Linked DNA regions of Homo sapiens: all the other regions are linked to region 2. Evidence: promoter capture Hi-C in human tissues and cell types (Jung and others, 2019). All regions are on one chromosome and are shown on one strand. Each heading gives the region's core, a stretch centred on a gene start or on the middle of the fragment in contact. The rest is flanking DNA. Distances are from core to core; before and after follow the strand shown.

Region 1 (2,700 bases), core at 201-2,700, 60 kb after region 2:
ACTCTAGCCCCTAGCCACAATAGCACTTTGCCACTCATCCCTCTCCTGCCAAAAGCCTCTGACTCCAGCCAAATCAAGCCGATTGCTAGGCCTTATCTAGATTCAGTACCTTTCTATTCCCTGCTCATGTGATACCCCTCCGCCTGAAGGGCCCATCTACCACACCATTCCCTTAGTTTTCCACGCCTATAATCCTAGCACTTTGGGAGACCCAGGCGGGAGGATTGATTGAAGACAAGAGTTCAAGACCAGTCTAGGCAATAAAGAGAGACCTTGTCTCTACAAAAAAAAAAACAAACGATAAAAAAAAAAATTAGCTCGGAGTGGTGACACATGCCTGTAATCCCAGCTACTTGGGAGGCTGAGGCTGGTGGATTGCCTGAGCCCCAAAAGTTGGAGGCTGCTGTGAGCCACAATCACGCGATTGCACTCCAGCCTATGCGACAGAGTAAGGCCCTGTCTCACAAAAATAAAAATAGAAGATTCCTTACCCTCCACTAGTAACAATTTCCTTTAAATAACCTTCAAGAGCTCTTAGGCAGACCTCTTTCAATAGGACCTTTTCCGACATGACCCTCTTTTTGAGACAGGGTCTTGCTCTGTCGCTCAGGCTGGAGTGCAGTGGCGTGAACACAACTCACTGTACCCTTGACCTCCTAGGCTCAAGTGATCTTCCTGCCTCAGTCTCCCAAGTAACTGGGACCACAGACAAGCGCCATTAAGACTGGCTATTTTTTTTTTTTTTTGGAGAGATGCGTCTTACCATGTTGTCCAGGTTGGACTTGAACTCCTGGGCTCAAGCACTCTTTTCACCTTGGCCTCCCGAAGTGCTGGGATTACAGGCATGAGTTACCATACTCGGCCTCTGACCCCTTTCTATTCTGCATTGTCACCATTATCTGCTGACCTTAGCTACTCATCCATAAGCTTTTTTGAGGCAAGATCCATAGCTCTGTGTCACTGTAGCATCTAACATGTACAGTGTAGCAGATGTGCAGTGGATCACAAATAATGGAATGATTACCCACTATTAACTCTAATATCCTGTCTCACATTTGTCACATTCATTACTTCCAGGGTTTAGAAACCCAAAGCTACGGGAATCCAATGCTTATTTTGAGCTTTATCCAAAATTCAACTAAACATTAGTCAGAATATTACTTTGATTACTCCAAGAAAACAAATACTGGCACACTGCTGTTTTAAAACCTCACATTCATTTTTACCAAGAGCACTGGCTGAGTAACATACTGTGTTCAAGGGTTGGGGACACAGAGGTGACTAGTTCACACAGAGGCCTATTTTCAGAGATCTTGTGGTAGAGATGAGACATGTGTGTTGATGGCTACAGTAAAGGTGCTACACAAAAGTCATGAATACAGTGCCTTAGGAAGAGAATAACGAAGAAGAAGCTCTGCCCGATAGATCAGGCTTTACATACAGGCGTCTCCAAGCAGAAAAAGGCACAACAGTAGAGCAATGGACATGTCCAAAGTCCAGGATGTGGAAAGTAGGGTGTGGCTGGAAGGAAGGGTGAGGACCAGAGATGCTGCTGGAAATCAGGCAGTGCCAAGTACACTAAGACTCTAATTGGCCAGTCTGAATGAGCCGTCCTTTTTAACAAGCTTTTCTGAGGTTTCAAATGGGTAGTTCAATTTTCAACAAATAAAAGGGTGGCCAGATTATAAAGAAAATTAGGTATTTACCAATCATCCTCATCTAATAAGTAACTAATTCAATAAAAATATATTGATTATCTTCTAGGAGCTAATGAAGACAGAAGACCTGCTCCCTGTGGTTAAAGACATTTAGAAAACTCATACATTGAGCTTCAAAGCCTAAATATGGTAATTTACTTCTTTTTGTTTTTGAGACAGGGTCTTGTTCTGTCACCCAGGCTGGAGTGCAATGGCGTGATCTTGGCTCATTGTAAACTCCGCCTCCCAGGTTCAAGCCATTCTCCTGTCTCAGCACCTCCCCAAGTAGCTGGGACTACAGGTATGCACCACCACACCTAGCTAATTCTTGTATTTTTAGTAGAGACAGGGTTTCACCATGTTGGCCAGGCTGGTCTCAAATTCCTGACCTCAAGTGATCCACCCGCCTCGACCTCCCAAAGTGCCTGGGATTACAGGCATGAGCCACCGCGCCTGGCCAAAATGGTAACTTACTTCTGAACCTAGTTCAGTGAACTTTTCCCTAAAGACAGAAAAATATTTCACTAGCTGAGATAGATACAGGTTGAGCAACCCTAATCCAAAAATTTGAAATGCTCCAAAATCTGAAATTTTCTGAGCACTAACATGACACAACAAGTGGAAAATTCCACCCCTGACCTTATTTGAAAGGTCACAGACAAGAGGGCAGTCAAACCTTTTAGTCCAGGCAACATACTTAGCCCAGCCTGGCTCTACAAAAAATAAATTAGCTGGGTGTGGTGGCATGCACCTGCCAGCTACTGAAGTAAAAAGATCACTTGAGCCCAGGAGTTTGAGGCTGCAGTGAGCTATGATTGCATTGCTATACTCCAGACTGGGTGACAATGAGACCCTGCCTGTAAAAAACAGAAACAAAAATATCACAAACAAAAAAACAAAGCACACATTGTTTTGTGTATAAAATTATTTAAAGTGTTGGCCGGGCAAGGTGGCTCACGCCTGTAATCCCAGCACTTTGGGAGGCCGAGGCGGGTGGCAGGAG
Region 2 (2,700 bases), core at 3-2,502:
TGCAGTTTTCCCTTCTCTGCAACTAGGATAACTACTGGGAGACTATCTGGGTGAATTCAGGAGGACAGAGGTCCCCAACCTGGCCCAGCTTCAGGGTGGACATACTGGTGTCTTTGGTTGGCGTCTCCCTTACCTCTCCCAAGCAGTAATGTTCTGGTGGCAAAACACAGCTATCTCAAAAATTAGGAGTTATTTATCCAGTGGGGCCCCCAGCCCCAGCTCCAGCCAACTCCCGCCAGCACTGCCTCATTCCTAGGCCAACTTTGATACCCTCCTGTCCCATCTGCTGGGGGCAACCCCGCCAAGCCCCCGCTGTCCCCTGCCCACTTCACCACTGGGACCCCTGGTTCAAACTAGGGATTGACCGCAGGCTCTCCAAGCTCACCTACACACTACATACAGCCGTGCCCCTAATCCAGGCAGGACTCTGCTGTAAAAGCAAACCCAAGGTGGCAGCTGGGGGTCAAGGGGCTGGCACAATGCTGGGAGAAATGCCTCAGGACTGGAGGTCCTCCCACTCTGCTGATGTGGGAGACCCCCCACGTGGGGACTGCCAGTATACCGCTTCCCTTCGGGCTGGCCAGTCCTCAAGTAGAGACACTGAGGTAGGGCAAGCGCATCTACGGGGAAGAGCGCTGCCTCGGGCGTTAATGGGAGAGAGAGCTGAGGCAGAAGGGGGATCGGAACTCCCGCTCCAGAAGCGTGAAGGTGGGGGTGTATGAGAGCACCCACCCAGAACCTTGCAGGAAAAAGTTGCTTTGCACATGGGTGACCCCGCAGGCCACATCATCCACACATCCATACGCCGCCCCGTAGGTAAGGGGTCCGGGCCTCCAGGACAGGTAAGAATCCCACCCCAGCCTTGTTGCCCCTATGTCCGCGGGCAGCCCCCCGGCTCGACGAGACCCGCTCCCCGGACACTTCTGCGGAGTTGCAGTGCCGCGGGTCCCAGAGGGGTCGCGGGGTGGCCCGGCCGCCTGCCCGCTCCCTCCCGGTTCCCGCTGCACTCACCTCTTCCGCAGCGGCGGGGCCTGGGCGCCCGGGCGGCGGCGGCGGCACGGAGCGGCTCCCGTTGGGCCGGTCCGCGCTAGCGGCCCCCCGGGGCCATGGCCCTGCCCGCGACCTCTCGCCGCTGCGCCTCAGCCGGGATCGGCGCCGCGGCCGCGGCTTAACCGGTTCCGCGGGCTTCGGGCGCGTCAGCAGCCGAGGGCCCGGGCCCCAGCCCGGGCCATGGGAAGGCTCAGGGGCGCTCGGGGCCGCCTCCCCTGGGGTGGGCTGCGGGCGCCCCCTGGCCGGCGCGCCGAGGGCGCATTCCCCAGCGCGGGGCGCGGGCGGTGGCGCGCACTCGGCTTCGAAGCGCTGCGCTCTCCTGGCTGCTGGACCCGGGCCGGGCGGCCGCGCTGGGCTGCACGGTTCCTCGCGGCGTACCCAGGTCCTGCGCTGCGCTCGGGGCTCTCCGGACCGCCGCGGTTCGTTCGCTCGCTCTGGTCTCGCGGCCGCCGGCGGGACGGGGCGCTCAGAGCCGCGCGGGGAGCGCCGGCAATTGGCCGCCCGTGGGCGACATTTGCATAGCGCAGCCCCGCCCCGCCCGGCCCGCCCAGCCCCACCCCCGGGGCGGGACCCGCCCAGCCACCGCCCCGCCCCCGCTCCACCTGTCCGTGGGCCGGGCTCAGGGTTCCCAGGCGGTGGGCACCCCGCGCCGGGGGAGACTAGTCTGCACCCCTCGCCCCCGCCCCCGCTTCGCGGGCGGCGCCCCCGCCCCGCCCTGGCTTTGTCTCTCTGTGAATACACCGCACACATCGCGCCTGGTGTTTACCCGGGCATTCAACTCCCTGGCGAGAAGGGCTGCAGCGCCAGGGAGCAACGAGCCTGCGCTCACCTGAGCACCCCCTTCCGCGTCCCTCATTCCCACTCGCCGCCGGCCGTGCCCCTGGTCCCGTGCGTGGGCCCCGCGGCGCAGGACCCCTGACTGCCCGGGCTGCTCAGCAGGTGGCGGTGCAGCCCCTGGGACGGCTGGCACCGCCGGACCTTCCCGCGGGCTCAGCCTCCAGCCTAGGCCAGGTCGGGGGCAGCCCAGCCACACAGCTCTCTCCAGCCATTCAACGACTCCCCGTGATCGCCTCAATCGCCAGCCCTTATTTCAGGCCAGCAGCTCCCACAGACTCTCCTTATAGTTCCATACCTTAGAGAGGCCAGATCAGCTAGCACCTTCTCTCCTCAAGGGGACATTTGCTTTCAAATGGCCTGGTGATGAGCCAATGGCTCAGCAACTGAGAAGGGCCTACCGTGACCCCAGGAAGGGACCCTCTGCCCAACCCAACTTTCCAAGGTCATGGCCTCACCACCAGGACCACTTCTCAGCCCTGCCCCGGGCACCCTGCGGAGGCTCCCAGGGGCGTTGGCCCTTTGTCCTCTCCTTCATCCTCTTCCTGTTCTGTCTTCTGTGCCCTCCTCTTTCTCCTCTTTCCTTTCTCCTCTTCTCCCTCTGCCTCTCCTTCCTTCTCCCCTCTCTTCTCCCTCTTCCTCTCTCCTCTTCTCCCTCTTTTCCATCTCCCTCCTTTTCCTCCTTCTCCTCTCTTCTCCTGGATTTTTCCTTCTCTGCCCTCTCCTCCTCTCCCTTCTCTTCCTCCACCCCATGCATTTCCTTCTCTTCTTCCTCCTCCTTCTTCCTGCTCTTTACCCTCTTCCTCCTTTCTCTTT
Region 3 (2,700 bases), core at 174-2,673, 43 kb before region 2:
TCCCAAAGTGCTGGGATTACAGCCATGAGCCACCACGTCCAGCCTTAATGAAAACTTTTAATAATTATTTTTTCAAGAAGCAGATTTTGAAAATGGTATTGGTTATTTTTGTCTCCATTAAACCCAGGAAAATAGAATTATAAGAAATTCTGGCCGGGCACAGTGGCTCACACCTGCAATCTCAGCACTTTGGGAGGTGAGGCGGGCAGATCACCTGAGGTCGGGAGTTCAAGACTAGCCTGACTAACATGAAAAAAACCGGTCTCTACTAAAACTACAAAATTAGCCGGGCGTGGTGGTGCATGCCTGTAATCCCAGCTACTCAGGAGGCTGAGGCAGGAGAATCGCTTGAACCCAGGAGGCAGAAGTTGCTGTGCGCCAAGATCACGCCATTGCACTCCAGCCTGGCCAACAAGAGTGAAACTCCATCTCAAAAAAAAAAAATTCTGTTTAAGTTATAAATAAAATATTCAAGCTTAAAATAATGTGAGTTTTAACATACCTACTTTTACAAGTTTTTTCAACTATTTAATGTTCTGGAAAAAAATTAACCATTAAAAATACATAAAATGAGTTTAAAAGGCAACCCACGGAGTGGGAAAAAAATTTGCAAATCCTATCTCTGATAAGGAATTATTCTCCAGAATATATAGAGAACTTCTAAGACTCAACAACAACATTAAAATAACTCAATTCAAAAATGGGCAAAGGACTTGGACAGGCATTTCTCCAAAGAAGATATACAGATGGCCAATAAGCACAGGAAAAGATTCTCAACATCACTAAGCAGTAGGAAAATGCAAATCAAAACTACCAAGAGATACTACTATTAAAAAAGAAAAATAGGTCAGGTGCGGTGGCTCATGCCTGTAATCCCAGCACTTTGGGAGACCGAGGCGGGCGGATCACTTGAGGTCGGGAGTTTGAGACCAGCCTGACCAACATGGAGAAACCCCGTCTCTACCAAAAATACAAAATTAGCCAGATGTGGTGGTGCATTCCTGTAATCCCAGCTACTTGGGAGGCTGAGGCAGGGGAATGGCTTGAACCCAGGAGGTGGAGGTTGCAGTGAGCTGAGATCACACCATTGCACTCCAGCCTGGGCAACAAGAATGAAACTCCGTCTCAAAAAAAAAAAAAAAAAAATTAGCCGGGCATGCTGGCATGCAGCTGTAGTCCTAGCTATTCGGGAGGCTGAGACAGGAGAATTGCTTGAACCCAGGAGGCAGAGGTTGCAGAGCCGAGATTGTGCCACTGCACTCCAGCCTGGGCAACAGAGCGAGACCCCATCTCAAACAAAACAAAACCCAGAAAATAACAAGAGTTCACAAATATGTAGAGGAAGGGGGACCACCTGTGCACTGTTGGTGGGAATGTAAAATGGTACAGCTGCTGTGGAAAACTGTTCCTCAAAATATTAAAAGTAGGCTGAGCGCAGTGGTTCACACCTGTAATCCCAGCACTTCGGGAGGCCGAGGTGGGCAGATCACTTGAGGTCAGGAATTCAAGACCAGCCTGGCCAACATGGTGAAACCCCATCTCTACTAAATACAAAAATTAGCCAGGCATGGTGGTGGGTGCCTATACTCCCAGCTTCTTGGGAGACTGAGGCAGGAGAATCACTTGAACCCGGGAGGCAGAGATTGCAGTGAGCTGAGATCGTGCCACTGCACTCCAGCCTGGGCGACCGAGTGAGACTTCATTTCAAAAAAAGGGGTCAGGTGCAGTGGCTCACGCCTGTAATCCCAGCACTTTGGGAGACCAAGGCAGGCGGATCACCTGAGGTTGGGAGTTCGAGACCAGCCTGACCAACATGGTGAAACCCCATCTCTACTAAAAATACAAAATTAGCCAGGTGTGGTGGCACATGCCTGTAATCCTAGCTGCTTGGGAGGCTGAGGCAGAATCACTTGAACATGGAAGGAGGAGGTTGCAGTGAGCCGAGATCATGCCATTGCCACTCCAGCCTGGGCAACAAGAGCAAAACTTCGTCTCAAAATAAATAAATAAATAAATAAATAAAATAAAAATAGATTCACCATATGAGGCCGGTTGCAGTGGCTCACGCCTGTAATCCCAGCACTCTGGGAGGCCGAGGTGGGCAGATCACCTGAGATCAAGAGATAGATCGAGACCATCCTGGACAACATGGTGAAACCCCGTCTCTACTAAAAACACAAAAATTAGTTGGGCATGGTGGCGTGTGCCTGTAGTCCCAGCTACTCAGGAGACTGAGGCAGGATAATTGCTTGAACCTGGGAGGCGGAGGTTGCAGGGAGCCGAAATTGTGCCGCTGCACTCCAGGCTGGCGACAGAGAGAGACTCTGTCTCAAAAAAAAAAAAAAAAAAAAAAGATTCACCATATGATTTGCCAGTTCCATTTCTGGGTATACACCCAAAATAATAAAAAACAGAGGCTGGGAGAGAGATTTGTACACCCATGTTCATAGCAGCATTATTCACAATAGCCAAAAGGCAGATGTAACCATTCATCAATAGATGAATAAATAAACAAAGTGTGGAATATATACAATGGAATATTATTCAACCTTAAAAAGGAAGGAGATTCTGCCATATGCTACACATGAATAAACCTTGAAGACATGATGCTAAGTGAAATAAGCCAGTTGCAAAAAGACAAAGACTTCATGGACCCACACATCTGAGGCACTTAGAGCAGTCACATTCATAGAGATGGAA

The links. The method cuts DNA at HindIII sites, captures the fragments that hold promoters and counts their contacts. A contact is called where the count stands out against the background at its distance.
Region 1: a fragment that was not itself captured here is called in contact with the fragment with the promoter of SEMA3F in region 2 in 1 of the 25 tissues and cell types used here (dorsolateral prefrontal cortex).
Region 3: a fragment that was not itself captured here is called in contact with the fragment with the promoter of SEMA3F in region 2 in 2 of the 25 tissues and cell types used here (heart right ventricle and psoas muscle).

What each region holds. Positions count from the first base shown.
Region 1 is chr3:50,094,371-50,097,070 of GRCh38, reverse strand. The region is part of intron 4 of RBM5 (RNA binding motif protein 5); the gene reads right to left. Among named protein-coding and RNA genes, the nearest start is that of RBM5-AS1, 5.3 kb to the left of the region's middle. The HindIII fragment of the contact is 4,849 bases long and covers 1-2,700 here.
Region 2 is chr3:50,153,876-50,156,575 of GRCh38, reverse strand. SEMA3F (semaphorin 3F) reads right to left here and starts at 1,252. Exons shown (of 19, transcript NM_004186.5): 1 at 1,012-1,252. LOC124909484 (basic proline-rich protein-like) reads right to left here and starts at 1,906. Exons shown (of 2, transcript XM_047449434.1): 1 at 1,880-1,906; 2 at 787-1,515. The coding sequence starts at 1,906. The coding sequence ends at 787. SEMA3F-AS1 (SEMA3F antisense RNA 1) reads left to right here and starts at 491. Exons shown (of 4, transcript NR_135301.1): 1 at 491-842. RefSeq lists silencers at 1,268-1,737, 1,768-1,907, 1,918-1,977. The HindIII fragment of the contact is 29,271 bases long and covers 1-2,700 here.
Region 3 is chr3:50,197,420-50,200,119 of GRCh38, reverse strand. GNAT1 (G protein subunit alpha transducin 1) reads right to left here. Exons shown (of 9, transcript NM_144499.3): 9 at 2,424-2,700. Among named protein-coding and RNA genes, the nearest start is that of SLC38A3, 6.5 kb to the left of the region's middle. The HindIII fragment of the contact is 5,603 bases long and covers 1-2,700 here.